Linked DNA regions of Homo sapiens: region 2 is linked to region 1. The links are contacts of gene promoters, found by promoter capture Hi-C in blood cells and fetal thymus (Javierre and others, 2016). All regions are on one chromosome and are shown on one strand. The core of a region is centred on a gene start or on the middle of the fragment in contact, and the rest is flanking DNA. Distances in the headings are between cores, read along the strand shown. Region 1 holds the start of CACNA1H (calcium voltage-gated channel subunit alpha1 H). Region 2 holds the start of SOX8 (SRY-box transcription factor 8).

Region 1 (3,484 bases), core at 653-3,152:
TGCAACCTCTGCCTCCTGGGTTCAAGTGATTCTCCTCCCTCAGCATCCCGAGTAGCGGGGATTACAGGCATATGTCACCATGCCTGGCTAATTTTTGTATTTTAGTAGAGACGGGATTTCACCATGTTGGTCAGGCTGGTCTCGAACTCCTGACCTCAAGTGATCCACACACCTCGGCCTCCCAAAGTGCTGGGATTACAGGCGTGAGCCACTGCACCTGGCCCACCCTAACTTTTAACGAGCAGGGTGTTGATAAAAAGATCAGAGGTTCCAAGTGCCCTCTGGACCGGACTCCGATTCAGCGTTTGTGTCTCCCCACCTGCTCCAGCCTCCCTCCACGGATGTGTCCAAAGCACGGGGCTCTCCTAGGTCCTGCTCCTCTGTGGCTGGAACCTTAATTGGACCTTTGAAGGCCTAATTCACCAGCTGTGGCCCTCCATCGCTGAGTAGTTGCATTAAAATAGACTGAATGTTTTCCTTTTCTTGAAAGTTCCCGTATACAGGAGGAGGTGCTGCTGAAAGGACCTGTACCCCAGCCAGGCCCCCACACTCCTGCCTTCCAGTTCCTCGGCCCACCCCAGGTGCTGTGTGTCCTTCCGGGCCCCAGCTGGGCAGGGCCTCTTCTTCACCCTGCACGATGTGGCCCACCCGGGGGAGGTCCTGCTTCTCTGCTGCTCACCCGCAGGTGGGAAGCCACAGCCGCCCCACAGCCTCTCCGGGTCTGGGGTCTCAGGGTGCGCCCTGGAGCAGGGCCTCTTTGTCTGGAGGGAGAAGGGGTCTCTCCCACTACCAGGGGCCCCTTGTTGGCGGGCGTGCTGAGGTGCACACCTGGGAGCTCAAGCTCCCTGGTGCACAAAGCAGTGGTCCCAGAAGCAAAACCACCCTTCCAGCCTGGAGGGGTGCCCTGGGGGGAGTCAGGAGCCTGGGCACCTGCCCCCACCTGCTGGCACCTCGAGGTGCGGCCAGCCCTCCCTGGGACAAGGGCCTGGCCATCCCCAATGTCTGAAGGGTCCACCCCTTCCCGACCAAACCACTTGCTCTGAGGGTCCAGGGGAAGGCCCTTCTGCTGGCCTGGCTGAAGGAGCAGCTGCTGGCAGGGGGAAGGGGCCTGCACTTCTCCTCGGGGGCCCCTGGGTGAGTCTCGCTGAGGCAGCGGGGTTGGAGGATGCAGGAGCACCAGGCTGCCGTCCCCAGGGTCCCCCAGATCCCCACGCGGGAGGGGACCGGAGACGAGGACAAGTTCGCGGAAACTGCCCGTGCGTGTCGGGGAGAGATGCGAGTGCAGGAGCGCCCAGCCGTAAAGCACACCCCCGCCCGCCCCCGCGCCCCATCACACACGCGCGCGCGGGCACACCCGGGACACACACGCGGCGGGGAAGGGGCACGCAGCCTCTCGCCTTCCACGCCCGCCCGGTCCCCGCCCCTCCGCCGACCCGGGCCCGCGTCGTAGTGGGGGTGGGGGTGGGGGCGGCGGCGGCGCGCGCGGCAGCGCGAAGGGGGAGGGGGAGCCGGAGCGGGAGGGGGAGGGGCGCGGCATCGGCGGCTCGGCCGCCCCCGCAGTTGGGGGCAGGGAAGGACGTAGGTGCTCCCCCTCCCACCCCGCCGGAGCCTCCCGCGAGCGCCCCCTGGTGCACCCCACGCCCGGCATTGTTGGGGAGCACGAAAAGCGGGGAGCCCAGTGCGGGGGCGTGGAGGGGGCGCGGGCGGGGTCCAACTTCCCGCACCCGGGGGGGGGCGGGGCGCCGGGCGGCGACAGGGAGGGGTCGCTCGGGCGCGCGCGTCTCGGGCCGGGGGCGGATCCTCCCCAGTACCCCCCCGCCCGCCCCGCCCCCGGCCCCGCCCCGGCCACGCTGGCCCCGCCCCGGTCGCGCCGGCCCCGCCCCGCCCCGCCCCCCGCCGCTCAGCCCGAAGTTTCCTGCGCCGCGCGCGGACGGGCTCGAGGCTCGCTCGCTGCCTCACCGGTCCCCGGCCCGCGCCCCGCGCCCCGCGCCCCGCGCCCCGGCCTCACCCGTCCGCTCAGCGGCCTCCACGCCGCGCCGAGGCCGCCGCCGTCGCCTCCGCCGGGCGAGCCGGAGCCGGAGTCGAGCCGCGGCCGGGAGCCGGGCGGGCTGGGGACGCGGGCCGGGGGCGGAGGCGCTGGGGGCCGGGGCCGGGGCCGGGGGCGGAGGCGCTGGGGGCCGGGGCCGGGGCCGGGCGCCGAGCGGGGTCCGCGGTGACCGCGCCGCCCGGGCGATGCCCGCGGGGACGCCGCCGGCCAGCAGAGCGAGGTGAGACGCGGCGAGGACGCGCGCCCGGGACCCTCTTCAACTTGCGCGAAGCGGGCCGGGGAGCCCCTCGGGGTGGGGGTGGGGCCGCTGGAGGGAGGGAGGGGGCGGGCGGGGGCGGGGGGCGCGTTTGTCTCTAATAAGAAAAGACAAAGACATCCCGGCGGCCGCGGCTGTTCCCGCAGCTCCGCGCCGCGGGAGGCAGGGCGGGGGCGTCGCCACCGGCCCCGGGTCACCCCCTGTCCTCTGCAGGTGCTGCCGGCCGCCACCATGACCGAGGGCGCACGGGCCGCCGACGAGGTCCGGGTGCCCCTGGGCGCGCCGCCCCCTGGCCCTGCGGCGTTGGTGGGGGCGTCCCCGGAGAGCCCCGGGGCGCCGGGACGCGAGGCGGAGCGGGGGTCCGAGCTCGGCGTGTCACCCTCCGAGAGCCCGGCGGCCGAGCGCGGCGCGGAGCTGGGTGCCGACGAGGAGCAGCGCGTCCCGTACCCGGCCTTGGCGGCCACGGTCTTCTTCTGCCTCGGTCAGACCACGCGGCCGCGCAGCTGGTGCCTCCGGCTGGTCTGCAACCCATATCCTTCCCGGCCGGCGGGGGGCGGGGGGCGGGGGGCGTGGGGAGGGTGGGGGCCCGGGGCGCGGGACTCCCTCGGCATGCGCCCCCGCGCGCCCCTGTTGGTGGGACCTGGCGTGGGCCGGGCGCGCGGGGGTGCAGGGCAGGGGCTGGAGGACCGCGCTCTAATTTCTGAGAGTGGCGGGCTTGGGGGGCCACCGGGCGCCTCCGGACTCCCTTCCCCAGGGCCGGCTCCGGACGGAGAAGGTGGAAGCGAAGCGGTGAGGCCCCCGCGGGCTTGGAGGGGAGAGGAGTCGGGGAGGGAGGGAAGGTCCTAACTCCTCGCGGCCCCAAGGGTGTTGGCCAGGACGGGAATTTCCCCCTTGCCCACCCCTCACTGTCTGAAGGTCCTGCCCGAGGCAGGCCCCTCGCGGGGGAGGGGGAGGCCAGAGGAGCTGGAGTCAGGGGCGCAAAGTTTTCAGCCGGCGCCTGGTGGTTCCGAGTGCGTGGGGAGACCCGTGGGGCCTGTGAGCGCCGCCAGGGCCTTTTCCGTGGAGAGAGGCGGTGACGTTGGTTGTGAACTCGCTTTTTCTGGCTGAACTCGGTGGCGGGGCTGACTTAAGTCATGCGCAGCTGAAGGGTAGGGGGCAGGGAGGCAATTGGCACTGCCAAG
Region 2 (3,484 bases), core at 267-2,766, 170 kb before region 1:
GCAAAGCAGCAAGGGCCCCGGGGTCTGCGGACGGGGGCGGGCGGCCGCTGGGGGCACCAGCTCTCGGCCGGGCCAGAACAGGGGGTAGGAGGCGCGTCCTGTGCGGTCGGTGGCGGCCCCAGGTGGGTGCGGTGCGCTGGCAGGAAGCGGCAGCACGACCCCCGACTTTGCATCTGGACTTTTCTAGTAACGGACCAGCTCCTTCTGCCGACCGGGCCGGGGAGACCGCGTGGCTCAGTGGCTGCAGCGGCCACCGGCCCGGGCGTGGGGGCTTTGAGGGCACCGGCGCGGTAGGTCACCCGGGTTTCGCGGGCCGCAAGCTCGGAGACGCGCGTGTCCCGCGTTGGCTGCCTGACCCGGAATGGCGCAGCCCCTTCGCCTCCAGCGCGCTGGTTGAAAGGATCCGAGCCACCCTCGGGGACGGCCGGGCCGAGGCCACCTCGCGGGGCGGCCTTGGGCGGGGACCCGGACCCGCGGTTGGACGTTCGCCTCGGGGGGGGCAATGTCCCCTCTCCGACCCCGCGGTCCCCACCAGGGCGGCACACCCCGCCCTCTCCCCGCCTCCGCAGGCGCCCAGGGCTCACAGGCTCGGAGCGGCCTCCGCCTCTGCCGGACCACCCAGGGCCGCCCCGCCGGAGGGGCCTCCCCGCCCCCGAGCCCTAGGTCACGCCCGGAAGGCCCGGGGCCCCCGCGTCCGGCCACGCCATCCGCCCGGCGGCCCCAGGGACTCAGCGCCGGGGTCAGCGCAGGCCCCGCCCAGCGCTCCCGCCCCCTCCAGCTGGCCGGCCCCCGGGACCGCGCCCCCGCCCGCGCTCTCCACGCTCGCACTCGTATGGGCAGGGCGGCCCGGGGTCCCCCAGCTCCGAGCCGCGGCCCCTTGAAGCGCGTTACCTGGACGTGCGCTGTCCGCAGACTCTGGACGAGCTGGGCCTGGGCGCTGCGCGGCGGAACCGACCCTGTCCTGGACCGCAGGCAGCAGCTGACCCCGCGCCACCGGCCTGCGGGCGAGACCTCAGGCGCGAGACGGGCTGTGTGTGTGTGTGTGTGTGTGAGAGAGAGAGAGAGAGAGAGAGAGAGAGAGAGAGAGAGAGAGAGTGTGTGTGTGTGTGTGTGTGTGTGTGTGTGTGTGTGTGTGTGTCGGGGGAGGGGCCCGAGGACCCGCTTCCTAGCTGAGCGTCAGGACGGGGGGCGGACTCTCAGGAGCCGCGCGGCGCCCGCAGAGGAGAGGAAGCGCCGGAGACCCCCCTGCTCCCACCCGGCCTCCCTGCCCCGCTTCCTTTCCCGGGGCTCCAGAGAGGGGAGCTCCAGGCGTGGGGCGCCTGGCCCACGTGGTGCGGCGCCGGGCGGGGCAGGCGGGGGCGCGGCGAGAGCCGCGGAGCTTTCTTTATGGGTGGGGGGGCGGGGGCGGCCGGGCTCCGCCTCCGGGGGATCGGGGCGCGCTCCGCCAATGGGTAGCCGGGCGCGGGGCGGGGCCGCGGGGCCGCCGCTTAAAGAAACTTGTTGCGGGTCCCGCAGCGGGACCCGAGCCTCGGCGGCGGCGGCGGCGGCGGCAGGGGCGAGGGTCGGGGCCACCGCGCGGCGACCTCGGGTCCCGGAGCGACCGCAGGGCAGCCCCGGGCGCCGGCCCCGGTGCGCGTCTCCTGTGCGCGCCCCTCCGCGCGCGGCCCCGATGCTGGACATGAGCGAGGCCCGCTCCCAGCCGCCCTGCAGCCCGTCCGGCACCGCCAGCTCCATGTCGCACGTGGAGGACTCGGACTCGGACGCGCCGCCGTCTCCCGCCGGCTCCGAGGGCCTGGGCCGCGCGGGGGTCGCGGTGGGGGGCGCCCGGGGCGACCCGGCGGAGGCGGCGGACGAGCGCTTCCCGGCCTGCATCCGCGACGCCGTGTCGCAGGTGCTCAAGGGCTACGACTGGAGTCTGGTGCCCATGCCGGTGCGCGGCGGCGGCGGCGGCGCGCTCAAAGCCAAGCCGCATGTGAAGCGGCCCATGAACGCATTCATGGTGTGGGCGCAGGCGGCGCGCCGCAAGCTGGCCGACCAGTACCCGCACCTGCACAACGCCGAGCTCAGCAAGACGCTGGGCAAGCTGTGGCGGTGAGTGCCGGCGCCCCGGGGGCGGGGTTCGGGACCTTGGCCGCCCCTGGTCTCGGACTGCGAGCGGGGGCCTGGAGGGCGCAGAGCTCGCGGAGGTGGTGGCCACACGCAGGCTCCGGGCTCTGCACCCCGGGCGGGTGTCAGGGCGGGTCCCAGTGGAAAAACATCCTCTGGCCAGCCGGGGTCCGGCGCCAGCTATGGGAGTCGGGATCCGCGGAGGGCAGCGCCTGGGGTGTGCACCCTCGTGGCGGGTGCGCTCTGGAGCCAGTTCTCCTGGCGGGGAACACCCTGCGGAGGGCCATGGCTGGCACCCCGACGTGCCCTCCAGCCGTTGCGAGTGGCCCCAGCCCCGGGAGGCACGCCCGGCACGACAGCAAGTTGCATGCGGCTCTCTGGAGGTGCTCCCTCCTTAGAAAGGGCTCAGCTCCTCTAGCTCCTGGACCACCCATGGGGAGGGAGTGCGGCAGGCGGATGGGTGGGCAGCAGGTTTGCCTGCGAGTACCCTCCCCGCAGTTTCTCCCTCTCCTGGACACCCTCGGTCCGAAGCAGGGAGGGCAGGAGTGGAGATGACGGGGTGCGCCGTGTGCACGCCTTGGCGTGGTGGGGCCGGTCAGTTTTCCAGAAATTAGGACTGCAGAGTGAAGAACTTGTTGCTCAGGACAGGCCGCCCCCACCGAGTGTCCTCTGGTTGGGTTTCAAATGGTTCTCTTGGTTTGGGGCTCTGGTTCCCGTATCCTGCTCCTCACCTGGAAGAAGGGAGCTTGGAGCTTGCGTATTTGCACCTCCTGCCTTCTGTCTGGATCTAGGGCGCAGCCACGGGGCGCTGTGGACGGCAGGCCCCTGCTCCCCCAAGTCCTGCCGCACAGGCGGTTGGAGGTGAGCCTCGGGAAGAGTCCCAAGGAGTGTGTCCTGTGGCTCAGTGAGGACGGGCGCCTGGGCCCTGCCAGGGCTTCTGGGTGTCTGGGAATGGAGGGACAGCAGCCCAGCTGCCCGCCGAAGGCCGGCACCGTTCCCGGGAAGCCTCGCTTTTGTCCACCGCCGGCTGGGTCCTGCCCGCCTCCCCCGCCTCCCTTAGAAAGCCCCAGAGGGAGGGAACAGCAGGCCCGGAATAGGGGGAAATAGAAGGAGGAAGATGGGAGGCGTGGGGCTTGTTCTTCTTTGGCTGTCGTAAGCATACCAACCTTCCCAAACAGGCGCCGGCCGGTTCTCCCAGAGGAGTGTACTGCCTGGTGCCACGGGAGGCTCCGGAGCGCACGGCAGGCGGGTTTCCCTGGTCAGAGCCTCCTGGCCCCGGCCTCTGCTGCCGGTTCCCCCTGTGGTGTGTGCCTGCGCCGAGGGCACAGTGGGCGCCCTGGCCATCCCTGCCTCTGCCCTGTGCTGCAGCTTGCTGAGC

What was found. Contacts are between HindIII fragments. The CHiCAGO score rates a contact against its expected background, and 5 or more counts as called.
Region 2: the fragment with the promoter of SOX8 here is called in contact with the fragment with the promoter of CACNA1H in region 1 in 1 of 17 cell types (erythroblasts); the score reaches 6.6 in erythroblasts.

What each region holds. Positions count from the first base shown.
Region 1 is chr16:1,151,204-1,154,687 of GRCh38, forward strand. CACNA1H (calcium voltage-gated channel subunit alpha1 H) reads left to right here and starts at 1,903. Exons shown (of 35, transcript NM_021098.3): 1 at 1,903-2,267; 2 at 2,517-2,833. The coding sequence starts at 2,535. RefSeq lists enhancers at 802-1,382, 2,757-3,484. The HindIII fragment of the contact is 9,021 bases long and covers 1-3,484 here.
Region 2 is chr16:980,254-983,737 of GRCh38, forward strand. SOX8 (SRY-box transcription factor 8) reads left to right here and starts at 1,517. Exons shown (of 3, transcript NM_014587.5): 1 at 1,517-2,091; 2 at 3,475-3,484. The coding sequence starts at 1,670. It overlaps CEROX1 (cytoplasmic endogenous regulator of oxidative phosphorylation 1), which reads right to left and starts at 1,360. Exons shown (of 3, transcript NR_164343.1): 1 at 1-1,360. It also overlaps a transcript of LMF1 not described here. The HindIII fragment of the contact is 6,393 bases long and covers 1-3,484 here.